3 separate regions of the Homo sapiens genome follow, and regions 2 and 3 are each linked to region 1. The links are contacts of gene promoters, found by promoter capture Hi-C in blood cells and fetal thymus (Javierre and others, 2016). All regions are on one chromosome and are shown on one strand. Each heading gives the region's core, a stretch centred on a gene start or on the middle of the fragment in contact. The rest is flanking DNA. Distances are from core to core; before and after follow the strand shown.

Region 1 (2,569 bases), core at 39-2,538:
GATCGGGTGTCTCGAGCCCTTCTTCGGGAACGAGGGCCACAGCTGGAGCTGGGCATGGAACCCAGGCCAGGGGGTGCTCCTGGGGGTTGGTAACCACACTCATTGGGGTCCAGGGGGTCCCGGCTGAGCAGCACCCACACTGCAGGCACATGGCGGCGCACTGTGAGGGGGTCTAGCCCTGTGTCAGGTGAGGCTGGGACCCAGCTGTCCTCAGTCTGAAGGAAACGTAGCTTGGTGAGCTGGTGCAGGCCTGGGACCCGCCGCTTGACAATCTCAGCGCAGCTGACAGCCTTTCCTGCAGCCCTGCCAGAACCTGAGAACACTACATGCCGAGCACTGCCGCCCTCCAACCGACCCAGAGCCAACCCCAGCAGGTTGCGAATTTTGCTGCCATCTCGGACCCGCATCTCAAGGGTATCAGGAGGTAGCTGGGGCATTGGGGAAGGCGCTGGGAGCTCTACAGAGCCAGCTTTCCGGTAGTGCTCCATCCTGCTTGCTGTCTTGTCTGTGACTCTCGCTGCCCACTGCAGGGAAGCATCAGGTAAGTGCTAAGCAATGTGCCCCAAGTCACTGTCCACCATCCCCTATCTCCATCCAGGATATGGCCCTGCTCCCCGTTCCAGACTTCCCAGAAACAGGATCATGTCCCCTTGTCCTTAGCATCTCGTGACAAGGTCCATGCCTGCCGCAGTCTGGGAAAGGGCTGTACCCCATACACCCCGTTCCTCTACAAGGGCCATAACACCCCCACCTCCAATCCTGGAGTCCAAGAGGCAGGATCACATTCCCCAAACACTGAGCTCTTTGGGAAAGTGCCAGGCCCCCTCATCCTAAACTCTCCAGGACTGGGGCTTAGCCCCCCTTATCCTGGGCTCCTTGGAACAGGGCCTGGAACCCTCACCCCAGACTAATACCAATAGAGAGCGCTCCTCACTTGGGGCTCTACAAGGACAGGGACAAGGCCCTTCGCCCCAGGCCCCCCGGGAAACAGCCAAGAACCCTTATCCAGTGCTGCCCCCAAACAGAACGGATCCCCTCTCCCAGAGATTACCAAGGTCAATCTATATCAACCCAGGTCACTCAGAAACTCGGGGGCAGAGGCTCGACTCGGAGGGCTGCTCAGGACATTCCAAGACAGCCTTGGCCGTTTCCATAGCCACGGTCTCTTCCAGGGTCTTGCCGGCCGCTGCAGCCAAGCCACAGGCGTCCCCCAACCCTACGAGCGCCCCTCTGCCCGCCCGGTTCCGGCTCTCACCGAAGCCGCCTCACGCACGATCCGGAGCCAAGATGGCGCGCGGGCCCGGAGCGCACTAAGGCCGCGGGGCCGCGCACGCCCCGAGGGGGCGGGGCGTGAGGGGCGGGGCGTGAGGGACGGGCCCCGAGGCATCTCCGCCGCGGAAACAACCCGCTGGCCAGAGCGCCCCGGACCAGTCCCAGCGGGGATGGGAACACGAGCGCAGCCTCCGCTGTTACGCCCCGGAGGGAGGCAGGACAGTTCCCTGCGGTAGAAAGGAGCGGCCGTCGGGGAAGTCCTGCGTCTGAAGGAGGGGGATCTGGCCCTTAGAAGATGGGAGGGCTGGCGTTAGCTGTTGAGCAAACGGGGAGCTGTGGGTTTCACCGTGGGTGCGAACAAAGGCTTCAGTTTGTAGTGGCTGCTGTTGCATGGGCGAGAGCCTTAGTTACCGACTTCTGAGCTTCGACCTCATCCTGTGGGCGCTGGCGGACCACGGGGGTTTTCCGGGTTTTCCAGGGGCCAGTCGAACCAGATCTTGTGCAGGGAGCCGAGGAGGGAGTGGTGGGGAAATCGGGCCACAGCCCCTGACGACACCTGCCGCGGAGTCTGGGGGCTGAGGGGGCGGGGGTGCCCACGGAGCCTAGTATGGTGCCTGGCGTATGACCGGCGCTCAATATTTGTTAAATGATTTGTTACATTAATGAACCAGAGAAATCGCGGTGGGAATGGAAAAAAGATTAAGTTGGGAGATACTAGTAGGTTCAGTGACGAGTTGGCCACTGTTTGGACGGAGAAGTAGGAAATTCCGATCTAGGGTGACTCCCAGGTTTCAGATCGGTTTGGACACGCTGAATTTGAGGTGCCGGAGAGGTCGCAAAGGCGGGGCGGCCAATGGGCCGTTGGAAAAAGGGTCTGGAGCCAGAGCACTCCCTGAGACCACAAGGGGGCAGCAAACATTTGGTGGACTACGGTGCCAATCTGTTTCTCAACATGCTTGCCCCAGCGCCCCTACTTCCCAACTTCCCCTCCCCAGGACCAAAACTTCCTGCATCCAAACCTCTTAGGCTGCCCTTCTCGGCTCGTGGCAGCAGGTAGGCTCCCAAGAGAGAAATTTAAAGGCCTTTGCACATGCTGCTCCCTTGGCTCTGAAAGTCCCTGGATATCACTTACCAGGTCCCTTCAGTCCCTTTTTTCTTCTGTGTCCACCTGATAGGACTGCCCTTTTCCTTTACTGTCTATCCTGCTAGCCCGTGCAGGGCAGGGATTAGCCCTATCTACTCCCATCATCTGACATTTGGAGGTCTCTTATTGGTAAATGTGGGATAAATGGATACA
Region 2 (2,569 bases), core at 52-2,551, 230 kb before region 1:
TATCTCTGCAGATAGACTGCTTGTGTTTAAATTTCAGTTTTACAATTATTATCTGTGTGACCCTGACTGAATTAATTAATTTTGATGTGTCTCAGTTTCTCCAACTTTAAAATGGGGATAATAGTACCATTTACTTCACAGGGTTGCTGTGAGGTTTAAGTGAGTTAGTATATGTAAGACATTTAGAATGATGCTTGGCACATAAAAAACTATTATGATTATTCTACTGTTATCCTTGCCTCACCTTTGAAATCCTATAATCCAGCCTTGACATAGCACCTGTGGTACTTTTCACAAATGAAAATTTGACCAAGACACCCTCCTACTTAAAACCCTATAGGGTTTGTCTGCCTTAGCCCCCAGTCACCTAAGCCTGTCCTACAAGGCCCTCCATGATCCAACAGTCTGAAAGAATACATATGCGACACGGTGTGGAGGAAGCCCTAGCGAAGAGCAGCTGTCTGAGGGGAGGGGTGCAGTGCTGGGATTTGGAGTTCGGGGATGGCAGTTTGCACATACTGAAACTGAGGTGTTTGGGGACATCCAGATCAAGATGACTATAAGCATATGAAGAAGAGTGGAATTCTGATGAGAGGACAAATCTGGAAATTAGGATTTGAAGCTGTCAGTAATTAAAGGCTTGTGTTAAATCAAATGGCCTTGGAGGAGGAGCAAGGGGAGAAGAGGGTGCAGGATAACACCCTGAGGAACCCCATGTTTCCACAGTGGATGCACAGGAAAGGGAGGCATCAGAGAAGCTGAGGAGGAAGTTGTTTCAAGAAGTAGAGTGTGGTCATAGCCTGTGTGCTGGAGGATTAACATACAAAACAACATCAACAACAAAACGAGTAGAGAGTGGTCAGAAGAGTGCAATTCATTGGTCTAGGAGGGTAAAGGTCTCAGAGGGTAAAGACTGCAGAGTCCTGTGGATTTGGTAATCAGAGCCATGCAAGAGCAATTTATTGTTTCATCATAGGAGATGCACATTCCCAACTTCCATTGGGAATTCTCAGTCCATTCAACAAAGACTTATGAAGCCTGGTGCTGTGCTCGATGGAGGGGCACAGCTGTGAATAAGACCAGACTCGGCTCTTTTCGAATGTACAGCCAGACAGATTATATTATATCCAAGCAAATGAGAAAGACAGTTTCTCATAAGGTATAAGAAAGGGTGAGGAAATAGAGACAGTGAGTATGGACCATGTTTCCGAGAACCTAGGCTGTTGAGAACAGGAGCAAGAGATAATTTTTAGTTGGGAAGAAACTAGAGAAGGTTCCAGGTTGAGGGAAAGAGGTGTGGTGGGGCAGAGGGATGCAGGAGAGGTGGAGGGAGCTGATGGGAGCAGGATGGCTGGGAAGATGGGAGGAGATGGTATCTGGAATGCACTTGGAGGGATCTGTCTGTGGGAGGTTAATCCTTTCTCCAACTCGCTAAGGATGGGACCCAGGGCCCTTCCAGGTTTTTTTTTCCACCGACAAGAACCCCAAAAAGCAGGGCCTAGGTCATCTCCTCCAGGGCCAGGGTCAGGTCAGGTGGTTGGTGGAGGGGGTGGTTAGGGAAGAAATCTAGGTCATGGGTGGAGATAAAGTTGACATAGAATCAGGATGGAGGCTGGGCATGGTGGCTCAGGCCTGTAATCCCAGCATTTTGGGAGGCCGAGGCGGGCAGATCACCTGAGGTCAGAAGTTCGAGACCAGCCTGGCCAACATGGTGAAACCCCATCTCTACTGAAAATACAAAAATTAGCCGGGCCTGGTGGCACATGCCTGTAGTCCCAGCTACTCAGGAGGCTAAGGTAGGAAAATCACTTGAACCTGGGAGGTGGAAGTGGGTTGCAGTGAGCCGAGATCATGCCATTGCACCCAGACTGGGCAACAAGAGCGAAACTCCGTCTCAAAAAAAAAAAAAAAAAAAAAAAAAGGATAGAGGTCACGATCCAGGTGGTTGGGTTCAGGTTGGGGGTCATTTTAGGGGTCAGCAAAGGGTGAGGCCTTACCTTCCTCTTGAGAAAGCCAGTACTTCTCAGGCAAGTAGGGGTGGCCTGATATGGACCCCCTATAAGTGTAGTCCTGTACAGCACATTTGGCCATCTTCTGCAGGGCTTCGGGATCCACATGTCGCTCCATGGTATGAGTCAGACCCTGGGCAAGGGGAGAGGAGAGAAGTGGTTAGGGGCACAGAGACCCCAGCCCTGGGGTCTTGCTGGAACTAGATCCAGCCTCTCTTGAGAAGGTCAGCCCAGGTGGGTCTCCCAACCCCCCTCCCCATGTCAGAGGGATTCCCATGCTAGCCTTGGCTCCTCTGCACAGTGCTCTTGTCTGAATTACCCTTTCCTCCTTTCTTTTCATCCAAGGCTAGGGCTTGGGGCCGAGCGGTGGCCTTACGTCAGAGTAGTTTTCTGACTTTCTCATTTCTGCCATTTCCTGGTGGGGAGCTCATGAAGGTCAGAGCTACATATACCTGTCCTTTTTCTCCTAGACTGTATGCTGCCTGGGAGCAGGGCTGGGTCTCTGCCAACAGTGCATCAGGCCCCAGTCTCAGAAAAGAGGGCTACCCTGGGAGCTGGCT
Region 3 (2,569 bases), core at 22-2,521, 180 kb before region 1:
TATTATCATATTTGTTTTGTTGCTCAAATGTTTCCAGCTTTGGCCATTGAGAACACTTTCAGGTTGGCTCCTGTTTTAACCTCCCTGTGGGCTCATTTTGATCTACTTCTTCCTCCTTTATCTCTATGGGAAACTAATCATGAACCTAGAAGGTTCTGCAGAATATCTAATGTTTATCTTTAAAAAAAATTATCAGCCAACAACCTGCTTCAGGCCCTTCTCAGCATATTCCAGGATCACTGCAGTAGTAACCCACTCATCTCCCCACCTTGTCTCCTCTTCCTCCAACTCATCTTGTATATTACTGTTAAAAGACTCTTCTGAGAATTAAACACTGCTCTTATTGCAGTACTCCTTTGCTCAAGACCTTCTGATAGCTCCTACCACTTAAAAACTCCTCAACCTGACATCCAATAAGTTTTAAAAACATGACCCCAGTTTGCCAATCTGGCTGCTCCTCCAACTGCCATCTTTCTAAATCCTTTGATCTCTTTGCCCTAACTGTCAGCCCTCTATGCAGATGACTTCCAATTTCTATATCCAGACTGACTGTATCATTTTAAGCCATTAAAAAAAATCTGTATTGGTTTCCTTAACTTATAAAGGTAATGCATATTCAATGGGGAAAGTAACACAATACAGAAGTGAATCAAGTAGGAAATAAGCCTCCGACTCTCCTCTGCCCTCCCCGTTGCTCAGGTTGGTTTTAAGAATGAAGTGGCCTCGGCCGGGCGCGGTGGCTCATGCCTGTAATCCCAGCACTTTGGGAGGCCGAGGCGGGCGGATCACAAGGTCAGGAGATCAAGACCATCCTGGCTAACACGGTGAAACCCCGTCTCTACTAAAAATACAAAAAATTAGCTGGGTGTGGTGGCGGGCGTCTGTAGTCCCAGCTACTCGGGAGGCTGAGGCAGGAGAATGGCGTGAACCCGGGAGGCGGAGCTTGCAGTGAGCCAAGATCGCGCCACTGCACTCCAGCCTGGGCAACAGAGCTAGACTCCGTCTCAAAAAAAAAAAAAAAAAAAAAAAAAAGAATGAAGTGGCCTCTCCAGATTCTTCAGTATCTCTCCAATCTTCCTATTAAATTGCTATACCACAGTAAACAGATTTAGAGACATGCTTCTTGACATAAGAGTTTACAATACAAATCAGAAAAGGTTAAATTCAGAAAATATAGATATTTATTTTTATATTGCAACTTAAAATTTCAAGGCTTTTTCCTCATTTTATTTCATTTAATCTCTGATAATCCATCTATCATTTATCTCAATTTTACAGAGAAAAAGAATCTGAAGCCCTATAAAGCTGAGTAACTCCCCTGAAGTCCCATATCCAGAACTGGGCCCCAAGTTTCCTGGTCCCTTTCCTACTTTACCACATAAAATGGCCATACAGAAAACGATAACACAACAAGAGACAACACTAATGGGAGGAAGGCCAGAAGCCAAAGAGAACCATCCAGAACATTCAAATATTAGTGATCATAGTTTTACCTTGGGGAATGTGAGAGTAAATTTGTCCCCTTGCTTTCCTTTTCTTATATGGTGAAAGTGGAACTGTAGGAGATCTCTCAACAGGGAGTAAGAAACAGGAAGGTATCTGCTCAATGTTGATGGTTTTCTTTCTTTCTTTCTTTTTTTTTGAGACAGAGTCTCACTCTGTCACCCAGACTGGAGTGCAGTGGTGGGATCTCAGTTCACTGTAACCTCCACCTCCTGGGCTCAAGTGATCCTCCTGCCTCAGCCTCCCAAGTAGCTGGGACTACAGGCATGTGCCACCACATCTGGCTAACTTTTTGTATTTTTGGTGGAGATGGGGTTTCACTATGTTGGCCAGGCTGGTCTTGAACTCCTGAGCTCAAGTGATCTGCCTGCCTCAGCCTCCCAAAGTACTGGGATTACAGGCCTGAGCCACTGTGCCTGGCCAGTGTTGATGATTTTCTGTTTCCAAAGAAATGCCCTGCCTCCTAGAAGCTACAGGGCTCTGTAGAACTTGAGAAGGAATTGGGAAGATGTGAGTCAAGTGTGGCATGTCAAAGCTGGGGTGCATAGCAGGAACAAGATTGTTTAGACAAGTGACACACAGGTCTCTGGCAGCATTTCCACACTCAATTCATCTTACCCCCTTTTGGTATGCATACCCAATTTAAAAATATGGAAAGCATGAGCTCTATCACCTGGGAAAAAATGATAGAGTCAAAGATCATGATTTTTGACCATTTGTTTCCCCAAATAGAAAAAAATTCAAAGAAAAAGGTGATGCTGTTTTGTCATAACAAATTCAAATGCAAAAAGGTGAATACAGAACATGAAAGTTCTCCTATAATTCATTACTGTTGCCAGTTTATTTTATACTTCCAGACTTTAAAGATATGTAATCATATATACCAATTTAAACATACATGGAATCAGATGATCCATCTTCCATATGTATTTTACTCAGTAACTTTTGTGTTATGTGCGCTTTACCACAATGAAATGCATCTATCATGAATATCTTTTTATGTCAATTCATATTAGATTTACATCCTCCTTTTAAAAGGCTGCCCATATGTATGCTATGGGATGGA

What was found. Contacts are between HindIII fragments. The CHiCAGO score rates a contact against its expected background, and 5 or more counts as called.
Region 2: a contact is called between a fragment that was not itself captured here and the fragment with the promoter of RPP25L in region 1, in 2 of 17 cell types (M2 macrophages and endothelial precursors). The highest score is 5.3, in M2 macrophages.
Region 3: a contact is called between a fragment that was not itself captured here and the fragment with the promoter of RPP25L in region 1, in 1 of 17 cell types (M2 macrophages). The highest score is 5.5, in M2 macrophages.

What each region holds. Positions count from the first base shown.
Region 1 is chr9:34,610,809-34,613,377 of GRCh38, forward strand. It overlaps RPP25L (ribonuclease P/MRP subunit p25 like), which reads right to left and starts at 1,289. Exons shown (of 2, transcript NM_148178.3): 1 at 1,256-1,289; 2 at 1-524. The coding sequence starts at 488. RefSeq lists enhancers at 207-760, 1,864-1,913, 2,041-2,090 and a silencer at 1,224-1,463. The HindIII fragment of the contact is 14,389 bases long and covers 1-2,569 here.
Region 2 is chr9:34,383,640-34,386,208 of GRCh38, forward strand. It overlaps SPMIP6 (sperm microtubule inner protein 6), which reads right to left. Exons shown (of 7, transcript NM_032596.4): 2 at 1,998-2,142. The region is part of intron 1 of LOC124902144 (a long non-coding RNA gene); the gene reads left to right. Among named protein-coding and RNA genes, the nearest start is that of MYORG, 8.0 kb to the left of the region's middle. The HindIII fragment of the contact is 5,604 bases long and covers 1-2,569 here.
Region 3 is chr9:34,433,196-34,435,764 of GRCh38, forward strand. All of the region lies in intron 1 of FAM219A (family with sequence similarity 219 member A), which reads right to left. Among named protein-coding and RNA genes, the nearest start is that of FAM219A, 24 kb to the right of the region's middle. The HindIII fragment of the contact is 8,827 bases long and covers 1-2,569 here.